Regions from separate parts of the Homo sapiens genome. Here regions 1 and 3 are each linked to region 2. Evidence: promoter capture Hi-C in 16 types of primary human blood cells and fetal thymus (Javierre and others, 2016). All regions are on one chromosome and are shown on one strand. Each heading gives the region's core, a stretch centred on a gene start or on the middle of the fragment in contact. The rest is flanking DNA. Distances are from core to core; before and after follow the strand shown.

Region 1 (2,700 bases), core at 180-2,679, 1.2 Mb before region 2:
AAGGAAAACGTGGTACATATACACCGTGGAATACTAAGCAGTCATATAAAAAGAACAAAATCATATCCTTTGCAGCAACACAGATACAGCTGGAGGCCATTATCCAAAGTAAACTAATGCAGAGGCAGAAAATCAAATACCTTATGTTCTCCTGTAGACGTAGGAGCTGAACATTGGGTACACACGGACACAAACATGGAAACAATAGACAGTGGGGAATATTACAGTGGGAAGGTGAGAGGGTTGAAAAACCCTGCTGGGTTCTATGCTCACCCACTGGGTGACAGGTTCAATCATACTCCCAACCCCAGCATCACACAATCTACCTCTGTAACACACCTGTATATGGACCCCCTGAATCCAAAGTAATAGACAAAAAATAAAATAAAATAAAATTGGTGATCTGTTGGTTGAAAAATTAACAGCAAAAGATTTTATTTTGGCCGGGAGCAGTGGCTCACACCTGCAATCCCAGAACTTTGGGAGGTCAAAAGACAGGCAGATCACTTGAGCCAAGGCATTCAAGACCAACCTGGGCAACATGGCAAAACCTCCTCTCTACCAAAAAAAAAAAAAAAAAAAATTAGCCAGACGTGGTGGTGTGCGTCTGGAGTCCCAGCTACTCAGGAGGCTGAGATAGGAGGATCGTTTGAATCTGGAAGGTGGAGGTTGCAGTGAGCTGAGATTGGGCCACTGCACTCCAGCCTGGACAACAGAGTGAGACCTCTGTCTCAAAAAAACGCATTATTTTATTCAACAACCTCTACTGACCATCATATGACCTCATTTAACCAAAAATAAGTTAAACTCAAAAGCAGAAAACAGACATACAGATAGGGGACTATCCAGAGAGAAACAGAATCCTTGCATCACTTCCATTTTTTGAGGCTTTTTCTTTTTTCTTTTCTTTTTTTTTTTTTTTTGAGACGGAGTTTCCCTCTTGCTGCCCAGGCTAGAGTGCAATGGCGCGATCTCGGCTCACTGCAACCTCCGCCTCCTGGGTTCAAGCGATTCTCCTGTCTCAGCCTCCCCAGTAGCTGGGATAACAGGCACTTGCCACCACGCCCAGCTAATTTTTTTGTATTTTTAGTAGAGATGGGCCTTCTCCATGTTGGTCAGGCTAGTTTGGAACTTCCAGCCTCAGGTAATCTGCCTTCCTCGGCCTCCCGAAGTGCTGAGATTACAGGCATGAGCCACCTTGCCCAGCCTGAGGCTTCTGATATACTACAAATAAATAAACAAAATAATATTTTATTTTATTTTATTTATTTTATTTTATTTTTGAGGCAGAGTCTCGCTCTGTTGCCCAGGCTGGAGTGCAGTGGCGTGATCTCAGCTCACTGCAAGCTCCGCCTCCCGGGTTCACACCATTCTCCTGCCTCAGCCTCCCCAGTAGCTGGGACTACAGGCGCCCGCCACCCCCGGCTAATTTTTTGTATTTTTTTTTTAGTAGAGACGGGGTTTCACTGTGTTAGCCAGGATGGTCTCGGATCTCCTGACCTCGTGATCTGCCTGCCTCGGCCTCCCAAAGTGCTGGGATTACAGGCATGAGCCACTGCGCCCGGCCAAACAAAATAATTATAATTAGGAAACAAGATTATAAAAATTGTGGTATACTTTAAATATTTCCAATTAACAAATGAAGTGGTATGAAGGATTTTTTTTTTTAAATTCTGTCAGTGCATCTGTGTAGCTATTTATATAACCTAGTCAGAGATAACATCCAACAGCTGACTCTGAGGCTCTTTATAAATAGGCCCTGATGTGCACAGATAAGGCAAGAGCTCAGCCCTGGTCAGCAGCCACTTTTGGAAGCAAGACCTACAAGATTTCCACTGACTGGAGCACGTTTTATTTTTAACTTTTATTTTAGGTTTGGGGGTAGATGTGGAGGCTTGGTACATAGGTAAACTTGTGTCACGGGGTTTTTTGTACAGATTATTTCATCACCCAGGTGTTAAGCCCGGTACTCAGTAGTTATTTTTTCTGCTTCTCTCCCTTTTCCCACCCTTCACCCTCAAGTAGACCCCAGTGTCTATTGTTACCTTCTTTGGGTACATGAGTTGTCATCATTTAGCTCCCACTTATGAGTGAGAACATGTGGTATTTGGTATTTGGTTTTCTATTCCCGCATTTGCTAAAGATAATAGCCTCCAGATCCATCTATGTTTCCACAAAAGACATAATCTCATTCTTTTTCATGGCTGCATAGTATTCCATGATGTATATGTACCACATTTTTTTAATCCAGTCTATCATCCACAGCATTTAGGTTGCTTATGTATGTTTTTGCTATTGTGAATAGCACTGCAATGAACATTTCCGTGGCATGTGTCTTTATGATAGAATGATCTATATTCCTCTGGGTATATACTCAGTAATAGAATTGCTGGTTCAAATGGTAATTCTGTTTTTAGCTCTTTGAGGAATGGCCACACTGCTTTCCACAATGACTGAACTAATTTACACTCCCACCAACAGTGTATAAATGTTTCCTTTTCTCTGCAACCTTGCCAGCCTGTTATTTTTTCACTTTTTGATAATAGCCGTTTTGACTTGTGTGAGAAGGTATTTCATTGTGGTTTTGGATGGCATTTCTCTAATTATCAGTGATATTGAGGTTTTTTCATACGCTTGTTAGCTGCATGCATGTTTTCATTTGAAAAGTACCTGTTCATGTCCTTTACCCAGTTTTTAGTG
Region 2 (2,700 bases), core at 61-2,560:
CTTGTATTCCCACGTGTAACCTGCTTTGCTGGTATTCACTGATGAGACAACGTGACAGGCTAGCAGCACTGGAAGATCTGTGGCTCTCACAATCAAAACAGTGTGTCTGTAAAATGATTCAGCCCCCCTTTCCTTTTGGCATCTGAGCTGCAGACCGAGCAAGTTGTTTCTGTCACCAAAAATGCCCTGGGAACTATACATAGAGCCGAAGTGAGCTTTCTTATGAGACTTCCCTTGGGGACAGGTCCAGCATATCTGAAAGGGAACTGCTGTGAGACCATTTTAGCTCAAGGGATCCCAAATCCTTACTGGGATGCTGGTGAGAATGAGTGCTCCGCTGCCGCACCGCGATTTCGACTGCAAAGCTTTCCAACACAAGGTCCACTGCGCGGGGAGCAAGTGTTTGGGAGGCAGGACCTTGGCTTTCCTCAGAATCAGGCCTTTCCGGCGGCCCCCCTCCCAGCCTTCCAGGGCATGGAGCTAGTCCTGTGTCTAAAGGAGTCGGCAGGAAAAAGGCGCGGCAATGCGAGTGGGTGGTCGCCGGCCTGCTCGGTGCCGCCCGGCGACCAACTCTGCGGCGCCGGCGCCGAGTGCCTGGACCCGATTAAGGGGAAGGATTAGAAAGGGGGTGCCCGCCGGGCAGCGTACTCACCCTCCCCTGCGAACGCCCGGGCTCGCGTGCCGGGATCCACGCCCGGACCCCGCGCGGCCTTCCGGGTGAGCTGCCCGCGGCCGCCGGGACCTGCACTGCCGGATAGCTCGGCATGCCTCGGCTCCGCGGTGGAATCTGGCCTGGCCCGTCATCCAGTTCCTGTCCCCGGCAGGCTCCGGCCCAGACCAGGCCCCCGGCCTCTCACCCCGACCTCAGGTTTCCGCCACAGCCCCCAGCCCAGGCCCTGGACACGCGTCCGGCCCCTGCCTCCGTGCCCGGCCCCCACGCCGCCTCCCGTCCCTCAGATCTCCGGCCGGCGTCCCCACGACCGGCCCCGACTAGGCCCCCGGCTGGGCCCTTCTTCAGCTGGGCGCGCACCTCTCCTTGGAGTAGAGCTGCAGCTGCTGCTCCTGCTGCTTCTTCCGGATAAACGCCATGGAGGGTAGGCGCGGGCGGGCGCAGAGCGCACAGGCAGGCCCCGCCGCCGCCTGCCGAGGAGGTCCGGAGGAGCCGGGGAGGGCGGGATTGGTGGCCGGCTGGGGAGCGCGCGGCTGCCGGCCTGGCTTCCCCTGCGGCGCCGCTGGGCGGCCGAGAGCCCGACGCGGCGTCCCGGCCGCGCTCACCGCAGCATCCTCGCGTGGGGACTCCGGCGGCACCGTGACTCAGGCCCGGAGGAGGGGCGCGCGGTGACACGAGGCGCCCCAAACTCAGGCCGCCTCAGAGGATCGCCAGGGCCAGCGGCCAGACCAGGATCCGACCTCACACACTAAACGTTTCACCACTTTACCAACCATTGCAGGCTGCGTTTTAAATATTTTACGCATAAAAAGGGATGCTGGCCCATAAACCACCAATCTGTTGGCCACAAAGACTTGAAATAACAACGTTTTGTGTCCTCCATTGTGAAAAAAAAAAAAAGACGGAAGTTAAAGGGGTGAAGGCAACTCAGTCGTAACTATTCCAAATACACCAGGAATAAGTGGAGATTTATAGCCAAGGAGCAAGGAGCAGGTGTTCGGAAAACTGCTAAGAGGAAACATCAATTCTGGGGGAAATTCTGGCTGAACCAACCTAACAGGAGTCCCAGTGAAGGCAGGCCAGGGGGTCAGATACTAAGGGTAGGAGTAAAGAATTTTGATCACATATGGAGGGTGGGGGATTCTTGCTAAACTGCCGTGGCAGTGTTACTTCCTAACACTGCATTTACAAGGAAGTGCACACAAGGACCTGGGAGAAGATTCAGAAGCCTAACTGAAGTTTGGCCAAGCAAAGAATCTTTAACACAGTCTCTTGATTGTTGAGATAATTGCTCGCATGATTTTTTTTTATATAACAGCTTTATTGGGATATAACTCACATACCAAACAAGTCAACCATTTAAAGTATACCATTCAGCGATTTTTAGTATATTTCCAGATATGTTCAACAATCACCACAATTTGAGAACATTTTCATCACATGTAAAAGAAACCCATACCCTCTAGCTGTCACTCTTCCTAACTCTACCCTCCAAACCCCAGCCCTAGCAAACAATAATCAATTTCCTGTCTCTATGGGTTTGCCTATTCTGGATATTTCATATAAATGGAGCCATACAATATGTGGCCTTTTGTGTCTGGCTTCTTTCATTTAGCGTAATGCTTTCAAGGTTCATCTATGTTGTAGCATGTATCTGTACAGTACTTCGTTCCTTTAGATTGCTGGAGCATATTCTGTTGCATTTTGTTTATCCATTCATCAGTTGATGGACATTTCAGTTGTTTCCACATTTTGGCTATTGTGAATAAGGCTGCTGTACACAGTCATGTACAGTTTTTTTATGGACCTATGTTTCCATTTCTGTTGAGTGGAATTGGAATCTAAGAGTGGAATTGCTGGATGTGGAGGCGAAAGCAGCTCCATCTTGGAAGCTAATCCTCCGTGTTGACTTCTGATTGACCCCAGTTCTGGGAAGGCCTCTAAGATTTCTACTTTATCTATTGTTCCTTGTGTAAGAGCAGGTATCTACCCAGTATGTTCTGTCCTTAATTCAAACAACTTGATGTTAT
Region 3 (2,759 bases), core at 208-2,707, 1.3 Mb after region 2:
CTCAGAAACAATTGATTGAAAAAGGAAAACTTTCTCCAGACAGCAAGCAGGAAGGGTAGCATGTTAGTCTGCAGTATGCCACGTCATGAGTTTTACCCTCCATGTTGCATTTCTTTCTGTTTATTAACCATTTTTATTCCAGAATGTTTTTAATTCCATATTTTTTGTTTAATGAAGTAAGTCTCAAACTAATGATTCACAGCAATTAAAATGGAAATTTCACCCATTTTAACCAGGAGACTGTGGGACACAAACAATATAGGAAGAGGCGAGTGTGTAAAATTGCATATCTCAACCAGAGACCAAAGTAATGTGATCAGAAAATTTAAGTACAAAAAGGGGTTTTTTTTAACCCTTTAAAAATGTTTCTATTAACATGCTCTCTTTCCACTGAAGAGGAAACTCAGGGAGAAAACATTTATGGACAAGTCCATAACATTAACCAAAAGTGTAATAAGGGCAAATAACCTTCTAAGAGAAAAGAAAACTTAGTTTATGAGTTTTTATTTTGCACCAAAAAGCTTCAAAATAAAAGGGGGGCTGATACTCTCTACACATCAATCTCTAAGCCACCCAGGGTGCTTGCACCTCCACATTGCACTGGCTGTGCCCCCATGGCAGTTGTGGGTGTCTGAGGCAGGTGACAAATGCAGGCACCTTGGACAACAGCTACCATGGTGCCCTGAAGCCCCTGACAGCCCAGAGTTACAATTAGACAGTGGGGGAACTTTGTCTTTGAGCCACCTATCCTCCTTTCAGTGGTTTTCCACCTGTGGTGGCAACTTCTCACGTGATCCATGAGCCTCCCAGGACCCTCTGTAGATGGTGTATCCTGGCACAGTACAGAAGCTGGTAGTGGAAAACAATGCCCAAGAAGGGCATGGCTTCATGTTAGATGGATCTGGGTTCATATTCTGACCTCACCCCTTACCAACTGCATGAATTTAGACACGTTACGTTGTCTTTCCAACCACAGTGTCTTCATCTGTAAATGAGAATAATATAATTTTGTGCATGGAGTCTTTTGAGAATGAGATCAGATAATACACATGAAACATCAGGCTCAGATCGGTTACAGACGCAGACTCTGAAATGACTTGCGGTTCAAAGCCTGACTCTACCACTTCACTACCGGGTGGCTGGACGAGTGTCACTTCACTTCCTAGTGCCTTGTCTCTGAAGGGAAGATTAGAAAAACACCTACTCATAGGGAGTAGCTGTTAAGTGCTCATCTTTTGTTTGCTGGCAAAAGTGCTTTGAAAAATGTCCAGCACATAATGAAAATTTGGCCTTATTTTACTCCATATTTTAAAGGTCAAGTACTCAGCTGCTATGCATGATAGGTGGCACTAAGATAAGACCTAGCCAAAAAATAGGCCACGTAATAGTAACAAAAGAAAATATTTTCCCCCAGAGCAGAGGTTTGGTATAAATGTGGAGGAAAATCATGAGCATGAAGTTTTGAAGTGCTGTGTGTTATATTGTTGGAGAAGACAGCAGTACTGAAGTAGGAGACAGGGTGTAAAATATGGATCTGGAAATTGGCTTGTATTGGTGAAATTTAGTGAAGGAGCTGGAAGAAAAATGGGAACTTCTCGAGAAACTGGATACAAAAACAAAAGAAATCTAATAAAGTTGCTGCTATAGATCAGGCCCTCAGTGAGACTTCAATGCAGTTCACAAACATTTACAGAAAAATTACTCTGTACTCAATAACAAGAGCGCTGAGCTGGGAGACAGGAATTCAAAACAGTAGCATACCAACGGGGCGGGGCAGTGGTAGAGATTTGCCCCAGCAAGGAAAAGTATGTTATTACTGACATTGTTTAGAATTGCCAGTGCATGATGATAATAAAAAGCTGGCCGGCTTTCAGTCACTGTTATTATTGTTTATAAATTCCCTACGGACAGTTTACCCAGCACCCAGTGCAGGCTGCGTTCACCACCCCTCCCTTGGTCTCCCTCTGACATCAGGTGAGATATGCCTGTTCCCAAAAAGCATGCAGCATAGTAAGAAACCATTAAGAAGAAATAATCATAAACAGTAAGTGAAAGCCACACCATCTATTAATTATCAAAATAAATTCCAGTTGGTATAAATATTTAAATGTGTGCAATAAAATTTATTTAAAATTAAAAACAAAAATCAAATATAGAAGCTACATGTAAAGTTTTATCTTACCGGTTGTTAAGCAGACTGCTCAAAAACCTAATAGCTAATCCTAAAAATCATTCACTGTTTATACAAAACTGTTACTTAAATGAGTATCCTGTATGTTTTCTGAAAAGCCTACCAATATGGCCAATGAACATTTCATTTACCTAATTTTTCTTGGGATGGTACTCTGTATCCAGTGCGGTTCTAAGCATTGCACCAGAGGCAGACTCACCATCAAGCTTCTGCTCGCTTCATTTGCACAGGTGCCCTCCCTCCCCACGAGGCCATCGGGTATCATATGCCTTTGGAACATTTATATAAGTAAGATATTTTGGCTGCAGTTGGTTCAGACCACTGTTTCTCATCACTGACTTTCTTTCCATAATGCTGCCCCTCTGTATGGTGGTGTTGCAGTAGCTCTGGGCAATTTTGCAATTCTCCTGTGGGGAGGTTAGTTGGGAATACATTTAGTTTGCTTTTAGTAGGACATATTTTTGCAGTTTGCAGTCACTTTTGAGTATAGTTACATTCTTGTTAGCCAATTGGATGTAGGTATTTCTTCCGGGAATTCTCATGTCACTCTTTATGCTAATTCTTCCAA

Evidence for each region. The method cuts DNA at HindIII sites, captures the fragments that hold promoters and counts their contacts. A CHiCAGO score of 5 or more calls a contact.
Region 1: a contact is called between a fragment that was not itself captured here and the fragment with the promoter of NSMAF in region 2, in 1 of 17 cell types (monocytes). The highest score is 5.4, in monocytes.
Region 3: a contact is called between a fragment that was not itself captured here and the fragment with the promoter of NSMAF in region 2, in 1 of 17 cell types (naive B cells). The highest score is 5.5, in naive B cells.

The regions. Positions count from the first base shown.
Region 1 is chr8:57,427,126-57,429,825 of GRCh38, forward strand. No RefSeq gene overlaps it. Among named protein-coding and RNA genes, the nearest start is that of LINC00588, 150 kb to the left of the region's middle. The HindIII fragment of the contact is 4,467 bases long and covers 1-2,700 here.
Region 2 is chr8:58,658,543-58,661,242 of GRCh38, forward strand. NSMAF (neutral sphingomyelinase activation associated factor) reads right to left here and starts at 1,311. Exons shown (of 31, transcript NM_003580.4): 1 at 1,031-1,311. The coding sequence starts at 1,089. RefSeq lists enhancers at 1-314, 1-138, 315-877 and silencers at 589-1,038, 1,049-1,388. The HindIII fragment of the contact is 3,520 bases long and covers 364-2,700 here.
Region 3 is chr8:59,930,799-59,933,557 of GRCh38, forward strand. No RefSeq gene overlaps it. Among named protein-coding and RNA genes, the nearest start is that of CA8, 350 kb to the right of the region's middle. The HindIII fragment of the contact is 1,876 bases long and covers 520-2,395 here.